Linked DNA regions of Homo sapiens: region 1 is linked to region 2. The links are contacts of gene promoters, found by promoter capture Hi-C in blood cells and fetal thymus (Javierre and others, 2016). All regions are on one chromosome and are shown on one strand. Each heading gives the region's core, a stretch centred on a gene start or on the middle of the fragment in contact. The rest is flanking DNA. Distances are from core to core; before and after follow the strand shown. Region 1 overlaps BTBD9 (BTB domain containing 9). Region 2 holds the start of BTBD9-AS1 (BTBD9 antisense RNA 1).

Region 1 (7,007 bases), core at 1,353-3,852, 240 kb after region 2:
CTTTGATTCAGTCTAATATTTGTTCAGTGACCCTAGTAGGTAGAGGCTCATACTATTAATACATTGTGAAGGAAAATTCTGAGGAGACAGGAAGACATTTCTTCTATGAAGGAACTTACAGGTTATACAGAACATTTGGGAACCATCTTGTTTGTGTACACACACACATATGCACACACAGTGTAAAATACAAAACAAGATCCTAGAATCAAACAATACTGTAACTGGTAGAAGTACCTTGGAAATCATAGCCCAAGCCTCCCATTTTACAGATGAGACAGCAGTCACAGGTGCCTTTCCCAAGTTCTCATCTAATGGCAAGCCCTGGATTAGAACTCAGGTCTCCTGATTCTGAGTCCCTTTTTCCCAGAATTTTGCATGGCCTATAAGACCACAGTAAACATGAAAAATCAGATATGTAAGTACTGTAAGTATATAAACATTATCAGAGTATGGGATGGAGTTAGGGAAATTTTTCTGAAAAGATGCATTTTGAGCCTACCCATCTGCTACTGGCTCATGTTGTGCCTGGGACGACTGGTGATTTCCCAACCCAAGGAGGCTATGAACTTCAGATTTTAAAATCACATAAAGGTACAAGTCAACTATCCACCTTCCAGAAGTATGATGAAGACTATGGATACAAAGAAATCCACCTTTATTTTTATATGATTCCCTACCTTGCTGTCAGTACTACTTCCACAGAATATTAATTTGTCCAGCCTATTAGCTGTATCATAATTCATACTTTAAAATTGGTTTTAAAAGTATAGCTTCTACACCAGTGGTCAAATCTAGATTATCTAGGGGTTCATTATTCAGGTTGTAGAGTATATTAGCCTGTTTTTCTTCCCTTTTCCTTCCTATTGCCTACTTAAAAAAAATCATTACACTGTTCATTAGGCCATTTATTAGACTGTTTCCTTCCACGAAAAGAGACTTGCATGTGTGGTTTTTTTCCCTCTGTTTTAAGCCAAGCTCTATAAAGCATATTTTCCCCACAGTTGACATTTTCTTTTCACCATCCCTTGAAATGGAATGTAAGTGAATTTCACCGTGGTGTTATAAATTATGTACTGAGTATCAGTAATAAACATTTCTTACAAAGTTCTAAAGTATAGTTTCAGAGTGGTGATCATCTGGAATTGCACACATTTACCAGCTGCTTTGGAGGGAGTTTGCGAGTGCTTTCTGCTCATACACTTTTCACTTCTTTATCCAAATTTATACAACAGTATGGAGCCCATGTAATAAACCTAAATGGAGCAAAAGAATGTTTGTATTCCTAGTAATGTGGCTTAGCAATCTTGACCTGATGAGTGGTCATCTTGTTCGGCCTTCTACCTTGAGGCAATGTTGCACATTAAATTTGTCCCAGAGAGTTCGTGGTTTTCCTCAGATGAGGAAGACTGGATAATACTGCTTGCTTCCTCATCTGCGGTTCTCAGAGCCTTAGTGTAAATTTCTGCTGTGAGGTGATTCTTAGGCAAAGGAAGATAGCATATGTTGGTACTGCTCTATTAGAGGAGAGAACTTGTTTATATCGTTCTTTTTTCCTTCCTGATTCTCTGGAGAGTTACTGAATTCTCTGTAGGATTTAGCAGTGGACATATAAGCTTAATAGAAATTCTGATGCTGGAGCTTTGAAATGTATAGTCTTTTCTTTAGGGTATGCTGAGGGTGGGAGAAGGAGGGGCTCCTGGAAGCTTGTTTGTTTGTTTCACATTTCTGAATCTTCAGAATTCATTTTTCCTAATTAAGATCAAAACCCAAATCTACATTAATCTAGTGTCAGGGTCACAGATTTAAACCAACAGGACTTCAGAGTTGGTGTTCTCGGAGCACCACTGAGCCCCTCCTATCACAGCCTCTGCCCGTTTGAGCGTGGATCTGGTAGGCTAATTGAAAGCCTCAATTGCCCTGTGAAGACAGAGCCACAATAACATTAAGAAGTAATCAAGTTTTTAGTTAGACATGGCACGTACTGTGAATCTACAATTCCAAATGCCTTCATTTTTGAATTTCTAGTCTGATTTTCAAATTTATGCCTTCACATTGCTTTAATATGGTGTTCTTACATTAATATTAATTAACTTTATGAATTTCTGAGGAGATGAGAAGGGAACACAGGGCACAATTTTCTAAGCTTTTCATTTTGGGGGATAGAACCACTGATATTTTCAGGCAGTATTTTCTTCTTTTGCCATTTCCTTAATTAAAATTATCATTCAAATACTATTGAATCATTTCCCTGCCAGGAACCCTAAACTGTAGGGCATGGGCTTATGTTAACTCAAAAGTCTGATATTTATCTAGGCATTAATTTAGTGGACATATTTTGAGCCACTGCTTTAGGTCAGGCTCTGTGCTGGGCACTTCCCTCCTCTCATGGGCTCACTAATTAAGCCTTCCCAATTGGCTCAGGACCAGCTGAGACTGAGGGGCCTTGATCCCAATGCAAATAGAGGCATTTGTGGATTCTGACACATGGAGTTAGACCAAATCTTCTCTGAGTGACTCAGTAGGGATAACATTTATGGGAGTAGGCAGCATGCTAAATCTGGAAGTACTTACTACCTAGATGGAATGGGCCTGGCCTTGGTGGATACAAGAAAATCACTCGTTCTCTCTTCAGCCTGCTGGAGGGAAGTTCAGGTGTGCCTTGAGCTCAGATCTTCCCAGAGATGGCAGGATAGCAGCCTTGCACGCTCAGCCAGTCCACTCCTTTGTTACCTTTTGTATTGCCAACAATAACCTTGGCTATCGGGAGGCTTAGTAAATTGACCGTGTTTTGTTGCACTCCTGTGCCAGTGCCAGGCTGCTCTTTCTGATAAGGTAAGTGTGACGTTCAGTTTGTGATGAGCACTTGCAGTTTCTGTAAATGTAATACTATATAATAAGCAGTAATTTTCCACTGACCCTTGAAAACAGGAAGTTTCTGTTTGGCTTTTAGTGACAGCCAAAATGTAGGTGTTTTCTCCCTCCACCAATATGATGAATTTCCAGAGGCATCTTTTTTCACAAGATAGATTATTAGCAAGTTGTTTCCTAAGCTTGACCAAAATGTGTCATGGTTAATCTTGCCTTAAAAAAGTCAAAGTCAAGTATATTGGCTCCAGAGTAGCCATTTATAATAAAATGACTATATACATTCTTAAGCTCCTTTTAGCTGTCTCCTGGCTGTGCTTTTTACTCAAGGGTTTGGTATCCTGAAGCTTAGCCCAGTAGCTTGGGTGATAAAACTGCCATGTCTCAGGTTATTGTTTTAAATTTCCTATAAGAGATTATATCTTTTTTTTTTTTTTTTTTTTTTGAGACAGAGTCTTGCTCTGTCGCCAGGCTACAATGCAGTGGCACGATCTTGGCTCACTGCAACCTCCACATCCCAGGTTCAAGCAGTTCTCCTGCCTCAGCCTCCCAAGTAGCTGGGACTGCAGACGTGCGCCACCACGCCCAGCTAATTTTTGTGTTTTTAGTAGAGACAGGGTTTCACCATGTTGGCCAGGATGGTCTCGATCTCTTGACCTCGTGATCTGTCCACCTCGGCCTCCCAAAGTGCTGGGATTACAGGGATTATGGGCATGAGCCACCGCTCCTGGCCAAGAGATTATATCTGAAGTGTAAAGTGAACTTGCACTAGATGACTTGGTGTCCTTTCCTGAGAGAGGAAGAGGGCCTTTTATGTTCTGTACTCTTCTCCCGAGTCCCACCCCATTAAGATTGAATGGAGTAACCATCCAAATGGACCCCTTCTTTCAGCCAAGGGCATTAGAAAGTTAGCCTGAAAAACTTGTTCAGGCCATGATGGAAGCAGGGGTCGGACATGTCTCATTATACCCTCTTCCCTTTTAGAATTCAGGGAAAGCTGACCAGCATTAACATCAACACAGATCTCAAGTCTGATAAGAAACATTTACAGTCTATTCTGTCTGAAACCTACTACTTGGAGGCTTCACCTGCATGATAAAACATTGGTCTCGGCCAGGCGCGGTGGCTCACGCCTGTAATCCTGGCACTTTGGGAGGCCGAGGTGGGCGGATCAACAGGTCAGGAAATCGAGACCATCCTGGATAACACGGTGAAACCCCGTCTCTACTAAAAATACAAAAAAATTAGCTGGGCGTGGTGGTGGGCGCCTGTAGTCCCAGCTACTCGGGAGGCTGAGGCAGGACAATGGTGTGAACCCGGGAGGTGGAGCTTGCAGTGAGCCGAGATCGTGCCACTGCACTCCAGCCTGGGCGACAGAGCGAGACTCCGTCTCAAAAAAAAAAAAACAAAAAACCTTGGTCTCCGCAACAGCTTACTGTAAAGCATACATTCCTTTCTGTTGATAATAACTCTCAACCAATTGCCAATCAGAAAATTTTTAATGACCTGGAAGCACCCGTCCTTGAGTTGCCCTACCCTTCCAGGTGGAACCAATGTAAATCTTACATGTATTTGATTGACGTCTCACGTCTCCCTAAAATGTATAAAACTAGGCTGTGCCCCAAATGACCACCTTGAGCACTTGTTCTCAGGACCTCCTGAGGGTTGTATCACAGGCCATTGGTCACTCATATTTGGCTCAGAATCAATTTCTTCAAATTTTTTGTTTAAAAAAGATTGAATGAGGTGCTTGCTGATTTTGTTTTGTTTTTTAAGAGACAAAGTCCTGCTCTGTCACCTAGGCTTCTAAACCTAGCCTCCGGCAATCCTCCTGCTTCCATCTCCCAGGTAGCTGGGACTATAGGCACATGCCACCACCATGCCCAACTAATTTTTCTATTTTTTTTAAATAGAGACAGGGACTCTCTTTATTGCCCAGGCTGGTCTCGAACTCCTGGCCTCAAGCAGTCTTTTTGCCTCAGCCTCCCAAAGTGCTGGGAGTAGAGGCATGAGCTACCATATCTGGCTGATTTTTTTTTTTTAAAACATTGGAAAATACCATTGAAAAGGAAACAGACAAATGCTTTACATTGTAACCCTCCCCACCTCTCTTTAAAGTCATCTGTTTATTTTTTCTTGACACTTGAAATACCATAAGATTCAGCACTTTTTTGTAAGGAATTAAGATTGTTTTTTCATCAGATTATCTTTTCTTCTTTCTGAGATATAGCTGGCATTATCTATTCATTCATTAGTTTCTGTAGGCATCTTGGTAACCATTTACTCCTATCAGATGGCTTAAGCAAGACCAGAAACTGTTGATTTTGTGATATCATGTGATTTTATGAATCATGTTGATGGGAGCCCTGGTACTTCCATGATCACCGGGGACTGCCATTTATCTCCACACAGGTGGCCTTCCTGGTACTTTGGTGCATCTGACTTGCTAAAACCAGGATATTAGTGAATGGTGGCAACTAACATGCAGGAGTTGTTTGAACTGACCTTACATTTAAGAAATTATTTTGCCCTTTTGGCACAAAAAGTTGGATTTGTTGATCAGAATGATAGATCCCCTCTCTATGTGGAGCTCTGTGTGGAGTTAGGGAGAAAAGAAAAGATAGACTACTTGCCTGTAGTCTGATTTGAAAACAACATACACCTCAAAAAGACTCTCCAATACACTGACTCTTCCTAAGTGTCACCTACAAAGCAAACTGAAGTTGAATGATTGTTTGCTTTCCGTGTCTGCTTAAAAATTTGTCCAAATCACAGACAAGTGTGCAATTTATGAAGACAAAACTAAAAAGCAAGTGAGTTGCACCTTTACAGAGTTCAGCTACTGAGCAGTGAGGTGTAGGAAAAGTGTGTGTTTGGCCTGAGATCAGGCTTCCCCTGGGCCCCTTTTGCAGTGATGCTCAGGGAAAATGCATCCTGTTCATTTGGCACAGCCATCTCTCATCTCACAGTTCTTTGTTTCCCAGATCTGAACCTGGACACAACATTCAATGACTGTGGGTTTGGGGAGCTATTGTTTTCTTCCTCCCACTGTGCCTTCCATTGAAATTTTTATTCTGCATGCGGAACTGAATCCACTCTGCACATGAAATGCACTGACCCAGGTGGAAGCAGATTTTTAATCAAATGTCATTAGAACAATCCATTTGCTGCAGAAATCTCTGGAGTCCTCATATTACTGTGCCCACATTTTCCAGTTGTTTACTGGGATTTGATTTCTAGCCCAGCATGTTTCTTTGGGATTTACTTAGATTGGCTGAATTAAATTAGGATTTATAGTTCTTGTGACCCTTTTACTTAGGAATTTTATATGGAGATATCCCCCATTACAGACCTGCGTGTGTTGGCTAACTGTCGTAATCCAAATGAGTCTTTCCTTCAAAACAGAAGTGGTTTCCCCTTCACTGGGTTTGTGCTTTGTTCTTTAGCCTCTGTTAGGATGTTGGCTATTTGGATTTCAGGTTTGGGGATGGTTTGAAATGATGTCACAGACCAGTAGTCTTTAGAAATGTCTAGGTCATATGATTTGTTAATTTTACTACAAATGAAAAGTAAAGTGGGAAATGGGAGCTCTGGAGAACTGAGAATTGTGGTTTCAGAGAGGACCTAAAATCTATAGTAGTGTTGCTAGTTCCTGGTCTCCATTGTATTTGGAAAAGGGGATGAAGAGGAGAAACGCATCTAAAAGAGGGTATGGAAAAGTAGTGTCAAAGCTGTTGCTGTTTTTATTATTTCTTAAGTGAGGCATTCCTTTCCTACATAAGAACATCTAACTTATGTTTTCTTGAAAAATAAGAGTTCTGGCTGTAAAGAGATCCAGAGTCTCAGTTTCCCGACTCTGATGTCCTGTCCCATACGCAGCCCTGTTTTCCCAGCTGATAAAGCCTACCCTTTCTACCTCGGGCCAGGGGTCTTTCATTGTCACTATGCCCAAGGGGTCTGTGCACACAACTGTACTTCAGTAACATTGGTTTCTTGTGTGTTCTATTTTATACATTTGAAAACATTCTGAGAAGGGATTCATATGCTTCACAGAGTGCCAGAGAGATCCCTGGCACAAAAAAGGGAAGATCCAAGGGTCAGCTGAATACTCACATATGAAAACCTTTGAGTAAAGCAGA
Region 2 (6,948 bases), core at 2,317-4,816:
AATTCTTGAGATAGAATCTACTCCTGGTGAAGATGCAGTGAATATTGTTGAAATGGTAGATTCTAGAACAAAAGATTTAGGCTGTCACACAAACTTAGTTGATAAAGCAGTAGTAGGGTTTGAGAGGATTGACCTCAATTTTGAAAGAAGGTCTACTATTGGTAAAAATGCTGTCAAACAGCATCGTATGCTACAGATAAATCTTTCATGAAAGAAGAGTCAATAGATGCAGCAGACTTCATCATTGTCTTACTTTAAGAAATTGTCACAGCCACCCCAGCCTTCAGCAACCACCACCCTGATCAGTCAGCAGCTATCAACATTGAGGCGTGATCCTCCACCAGCAAAAAGGTTATGACTCACTTGAGACTCAGATGATTGTTAACATTTTTTAGCAATAAAGTATGTTTTAATTAATAATCTGTACTTTTTTTGGACATAATGCTGTTGCACACTTAATAGGCTACCATACAGTGTAAACGTAATTTTTATATGCACTGAGAAACCAAAAGATTTGTGTGGCTTGCTTTATTGTGTGGTCATAAACTGAACCCATGACATCTCCCAGCTATCCCTGTACCTGTCTCATAGGGTTGCTACAAATGTCAAAGGAGATCAGGCTTGTAAAACAGCCTTAGCAGAGGTCTTGGTACAAAGGAAGCACTCAGTTGATAAAGGATTACTGTTATCTCTTTTTGTTTTAAAAAGATATCCAGTATTCTTCTTCAGGAACTGATTATAATCTCAAATAGTAGTCAGTCCCAGGAAGTGTTTTTATAAATCTAACCCACATTTTATCTACTCTAGAACTTTTGCCCATCTGCTGAACCTTTAATCCATTTCTTTTTATTTAATCCTCATTAGACATTTAAAAAACAACTAATGATTACCCCTGAAGAATAAAAATATAACACTTCCTTAGTAATTCTAGTTCTAGTTTCATAGGTCTGATTTCCCTGTGCACTAGTTATTATGTCTCACCTTTATGCTTCTGTGCATGTCTACAGTTGAAGAGCAAAGAGCTGAACACAGGATTCTAAACAAGGATTTCATCGTCATTTCATTTATCCATTGAGTAAAATGTTTACGGAGCACCCACAATATACTAAACACTGTGCCTGGAAGTAGACATATAGCAGTAAACGAGATTAAGTTGTTGCTTAACGCAGTTTACATTGTAGTAGGAGAGAGAGAAAAATGAGATGTAAAGAAATAAATGTGATACTGACTAGTCATAGTTTGACAAAATTGGAATGGGGGAATAAGCTAGCCAGTGGTTGAGTTTGGGGAAGGAGCACTTGAGCAGAACGGTCAGGGAAGGCCTTTCTGAGGAAGTGAGTTGAGCCAAAACTTGAATTACAAGAAGTTGGCTTGGCTATGCAGCAATCTAAGGGAGAAGTGTTCCAGGCTAGGGAACAGCAAGAGTAAAGGCTGTGAAGTAGAAACTAGCTTGGGGTTTTTGAGGAACAGAAAGAAGGCCATGTGTTTCTGAAATCTGGTGGGTAGATAGTCTGTAGGGTGTTGGGAGGAAGGTATGTTTAGCAATGAGGGCAGACAGATAGACAGGAGCCATGTCCTACAGGGACTTGATAGTGTCGAATTCTAAGGATGATGGGAAACCATAGAAGGGTTTAAACCAGGTGATGGTAGTTGAGATTTTTGAAAGATAACTCTAGTGTGATCTAGTGTGAGAATGGACTATAGGGAAGACCAGACAGCAGGTGGGCAAGGAAAAGTGAATACAAGAGACTGGGAAGGAGCTGCCAGTGAGGCAGGAAGAAAACAAGGACAACATTTTCATGGAAGTCTTAAAAAGTCAGTCTTTCGGTATGAGGAGGGGAGATGGGAGAGGGCAGTAGGTAACAGAAAATCGACTCCTGGTTGTAGCAAGATAGAGCTTAGTGGCGTCCTTTAAGAGCCATTTCAGTGGAGTCAAGGGAGAAGGGAATAGAGGCTGAGGGAATAGGGGTAGCAATACATGTAGAAGATAAAGTATCACTGGGAGGGGAAGCAGAGAAATGATGAAGAGGATGGAGGGGGACCTAGGGTCAAGGGAGGATGATGTTAAGGTATGTGTGTGTGTGGACTGGAATGATACCACAGGGAGGGAGGATTTGATAATGCAGGAGAGTGGATCTTTGTAGGGGCCGTGTACCTCATTATGGGAGAGGGGCTGGATCTCTAGCTCAAGGAGAAGATTGACTTTAGGTAGAATTGAGGTTCCTTCTTTTCCTGTAACAGGAGGAAAGGCAGAGTATGTAGAATAGATGTACCCAGATTGAAAGAGGCAAAAATGGAAGCCTTACCTTCATGTTGACAGTGCTTGTGCCTTGGTGGGTCTTTGTGGTATATCATGGCCTCAAGCTCTGTTTTTGCAGGTCCACTGAGTTATTTGTGCTATATATATTCTTTTCCTACCCAGGCCATCTATCTCAGATACAGATCTGTTTACATGTCTGTCTCCCCCACTAAACTGGCATCTCTTCAACAAGAGTAGTTATCTTTGTATCTCCAGACATAGCTCAGTGTTTGGCAAGAACTGAGTTGAAGGAATGACAGCTACATCAGTAGAAAGGACTCATATAACAGCTACACAAACATGCGGTAGAAAGGAAAGTAATTCAAGAGCATGAATAAAATTAAGTGTTTATATCTTAGAATAATTAATATGATTTCTCTCTTTTAAGTGGAATACATTGTTACTGAACACCAGAATTGAGGGGTAGCTAAAAGTAAAAAAAAAAAAAAAAGAAAGAGAAAGGATCACCTCACACCTCACTACCATCTGGAAAGAAGATGAGCTTTTAACAGCCCCTTTCAGTAGGGACGAGTTAGTGCCTGGCATGCTTTGGTGGGAAGCACATTTCTAGGTTCAGGAGAAAGTGAGAATCAAACGTGTCTGGGAAAAGGAGATCCCAGTGTGATCAGCTTGCTTGTGGAAGATTAGCAGGGGTTGGGGGCGTAGAGGGCTTCGGGCAAGAGTAAATGTTAATGAGAGATGGCTTAAGCAGACTTGTGCCCAAACGAGTGAGAACAATTTGACAGGAAGTTCAGTTGAGCATGTGTAGCACTTCTCCAAATGCTTTCTTCTTGGACTGGGAAGAAACACAACAAAACAAAATAGTTACTTTCCCCTTCAACATTATACAGCACATCCTAAATGAAACATGACTTTCTGAGTTACAAGCTGCCCCTGGCAAAAAGGCTGGTTATAATCTCAGTGTGTTCCCTGAAACTAATGTTCCTTGGGCACTCCAGATTTGTGTGACGTACTGTAAGTTATATCCAACTGAACTGTTCTTTTAACTGCCTGCATTAAGCATCATCAAATAAGTTGCGCTGAAAGGAACCACCTGAATAAAGAAGCTTTTATACCTTTGTAAGTCCTCACTGCATGACCCTAGGTCACTGCTGTTGAACTTGGGAGCTTTCTCTCCCACTTTTCACTCTCTTGCCTTTAATGGATGGGGGTCTCCACACCAGGTTTTCTTTCTCTCTCATCTGCCAGGTGCTAGCAAATGGTGCTGCCAGCCTCATTAGGGGAGAGGGGGTAGTGTGGAGGCAGGCACTGGCCCCTCCCTCATGTGCCCCGCTTCCCAGAGGCCTATGGGATACCAACTGAAAAGAGGTCGTGAGCAGAGCTGCTCACCCTGGAATTCATTTTCTCTAGACTCATTAAAATGCTGCCTTCCTATCTCCCTTGGATTTTTACTTTTCAAAACACTTTACGATGTGCGGCCTCATTTTATTTTACATTAAGCTGACAACCTAACATCTCACCAAGTATCAACTGGGAATACAATTTTGCACTCACTGTGCTGTGCCATCTTGCCAAGTTTTGTCTTTGTTACTCAGCTCTCATTCAGAAAGGAATTAATTTGAATTATATGATGCTATGGTTGTCTCCTTGAAGAAGGGCTAGATTCCTGCACACCTTGGGAAAGTATCTATCTGTGAATGTACTTGAATCTTCCAGGTTATATGCCATTCTTCTCTCTTCTTTCCCTTTCACATCATCATGGGCTCCTCTCACGTTAGAATAAACCTTTCTGTTTTGCCTCTCCCTACTCAATGGGATTTCCATTGTTTCTGTCTTCACTTCCTTTTACCTGGGAGAAGCTGATACTGATGGAAAGGCATTTTTGAGTCTAGATATAAAGCTCTTTGTTTAAAGAGCATTTTTAAAAGAAGGGAATTTTTACATTGCCAAAGGTACCCAGGTGTTGCCTTCCTTCCCCATGAGGATTTTGCACAGAGCGCACATTCATACCCACTATCTCTTAGTGTCAGCCTGTGTGATGGCTATATGCTGTCTACCAACACTACAGTCTGTTTGGGAAGCGCCAAATCTTGGGTAGGCACTGGATCTAAAACTGGCACTGGAATCATCCACTCAGAGGAAGAAAGATTGAGGTCAGGTGGGGAATAAGACAGGCAAGTTGTCAGGCTTCTTTTCAGATGGTTCTCAGAGTACACTTCCATTACTTAGAACAGTGGGTTTGGTGGGGGGTTTTGGCGTGTTCTATAGCTGAGCTACAAGCAAAATTAGAGCTTTTTACTTATATACTACTTTGCATGGAGGTAGTCTCAGGGTCCCAGTTACAGCACTGATTTCTTGAAAAGAGTTTGATGTTCTGGCCCATGCTTAATTTAAATGAGAGGCTAAAAGCAGATTGTGTAACCCACCAATGCCCATTTGACAGGACTTGCACCAATCTGACCTACACTTTCATAAGAGCTCCTAAGCAGAGTGCTGTACTGTGGGTCTTCTGCCTTAACTCCAGGAATGGCAGAGATGAGCTACTGTTTATTGAGCACCGACAAAGGAGAGGTACTCTGAGTGTTGAATGCATGCTGTCTCTCAGCCCACAAGAGCCCTGCAAAGGAAGTGCATTGCTCCCCGTATTTATGGATGAGGAAGCTGAGTATCAAGAAGCTTGCTCAGAATCATGCAGCTAGCAAGGAGCAAGGCAGGGTTTCAGAGCTACGTTTATCTGTTTCCAAAGAGTACACTCTCCCCTCAATTCCCAGTAGTACTTCTCCAGTAAATCTTAAGTATTGTATTGCTTTTTTCCCTTCTATTTCTCTTAGCAGTCTATAGAAAAGAGCGTTTATTTAAAGATTTTAGTGCTCATCTGGGCATAGTGACTCATGCCTGTAATCTCCACACCTTGGGAGGCCGAGGCAGGAGGATCGCTTGAGCCCAGGAGTTCCAGACCAGCCTGGGCAACATGACGGAACCCTTTCTCTACCAAAAATACAAAAGTTAGCTGGGCATGGTGGTGCACACCTGTAGTCCCAGCTACTCAGGAGGCTGAGGCAGCGGGATTGCTTGAGCCCGAGAGGTGGAGGTTGCAGTGAGCCGAGATCACGCCACTGCACTCTAGCCTGGGCGACAGAGCCAGATCCTGTCTTTTAAAAATAAAAATAAAAATAAAAAAAGATTTTAGTGCCCCCTATAACTTGAGGCTTGGATTCTGAAGTGAAAGTTGTTGTTCTGAGAGGTGTTGATTGAGCAGTAGTAATACCAACTACATCAGTGGGACTTGGTGGCCCAGTCACACGGATGCAGTCAGAAAGGGAGTGTTACCTCATAAAGCAGTGATTCAAGCCTGGGCTTGGATTTTAAAATGTTGGAAAGTTGTGAAGAAATGGGATTTTTTTTTTCTTCCAAAGATTGTAATAACTTTGCCATTGTACCATTAACATAGTCACCACCTCATGTTTGTCATGTAACCAATTTATGTTTTTACTAACATTGAGGAAATGATTTTTTTTATGCTTCCTCCTTTCTATCTTTCAATTTTTTCCCATCTACACTGTGTGGATTATCAGATAAACAGGAAGGTCAGTGCTCGCTTAACCAGGGTTTGGCCAGTGCTCAGTGGGTGGGAAGCCGTCGGGAGAGGAGCTGGAGGGGTTGTGTGTCTGAACCCCTGTGCTCCACATTGGGCGCCTGTCAGGTTCCACTGACTTTTCATTGTATATTTGGAAACTCTTTCATAGCCAGAGCAAAGCCCAGGGAAATCTCTCCTCCTGTGGTGTTGGTCGCGTTCTTGTAGTTTCCATTTGATAACAGCATAGTTTACAGAGAACTTTTTGAGCTTTTGGAGAACTCCTGAGACTTATTTTGTCTTTGCCTGCAGCCAAAATAATTGAAGCATTGTCAGTCTATTTCAGCAGCACTTCTTCAGGTAGACTGTGATACTATTTGGGATGTTCAGATAGACCAAAGAGAACACAGATTGTAGCTCCTCCTGGAGCTATAATCCTGGTTTTATATATGATAAAAGTGAAATGGAATTTTAGCTCACAAGACATACCAAGGCGACTTGGTCATTATATAGTAGCAGCCTCGCTTATAATTTCCAGAGTTTCCTCTGAGTTTTAATCTGGCATTTGTTTCTTCCCTTCTCCAAGGAAAACAGGAGTTCTTAGCTCTTCCCTGTAGCTTCTGAAATAAATTCACACAGAATTTGAAGGCAAGTGAAGTAGGTCAGAATCCTTCCGGAAGCCAAGAACCCACTTATCTTCCCTCCTTTAGTTTTCTGTTTTGTCTGCCCATGCACATTTCCTCTTAGGTCCTCTAAGGAGAGTATGGGAAGAAAGGGAGTCAAATTCAATGATGCAGAAAGGGTCAGAGAAAGTGGTTGTAGATGACTGATGAGATTTGACACCATCCTCACTGCCGGCCATGTAATTCTCTAAAAAAAATAGGAGACAAGATAGAGATAGTCAAATCATACTAATAAACTATTTTTCAAGCATCCACATGCCCAGAGATGCTTAAAAGACCAGTAAATGGATGTGTCAGATGATATATATGAGTAAGCTAATATGATAGTCAAAATCAATAAAATAAAACCAAAATATTTTAAAGGTGGCAAAGCTCATGAGAGCCCAGTACTCAGAAATATATAACCTTCCTTTGCACATGTTTCTCCTCAC

What was found. The method cuts DNA at HindIII sites, captures the fragments that hold promoters and counts their contacts. A CHiCAGO score of 5 or more calls a contact.
Region 1: a fragment that was not itself captured here is called in contact with the fragment with the promoter of BTBD9-AS1 in region 2 in 2 of 17 cell types (endothelial precursors and M1 macrophages); the score reaches 5.3 in endothelial precursors.

Annotation. Positions count from the first base shown.
Region 1 is chr6:38,235,745-38,242,751 of GRCh38, reverse strand. All of the region lies in intron 9 of BTBD9 (BTB domain containing 9), which reads left to right. It overlaps LOC105375045 (a long non-coding RNA gene), which reads right to left and starts at 451. Exons shown (of 2, transcript XR_926772.4): 1 at 1-451. The HindIII fragment of the contact is 907 bases long and covers 2,149-3,055 here.
Region 2 is chr6:38,478,214-38,485,161 of GRCh38, reverse strand. It overlaps BTBD9-AS1 (BTBD9 antisense RNA 1), which reads right to left and starts at 3,566. Exons shown (of 2, transcript NR_144472.1): 1 at 3,376-3,566; 2 at 2,635-3,095. The region is part of intron 6 of BTBD9 (BTB domain containing 9); the gene reads left to right. The HindIII fragment of the contact is 1,570 bases long and covers 3,369-4,938 here.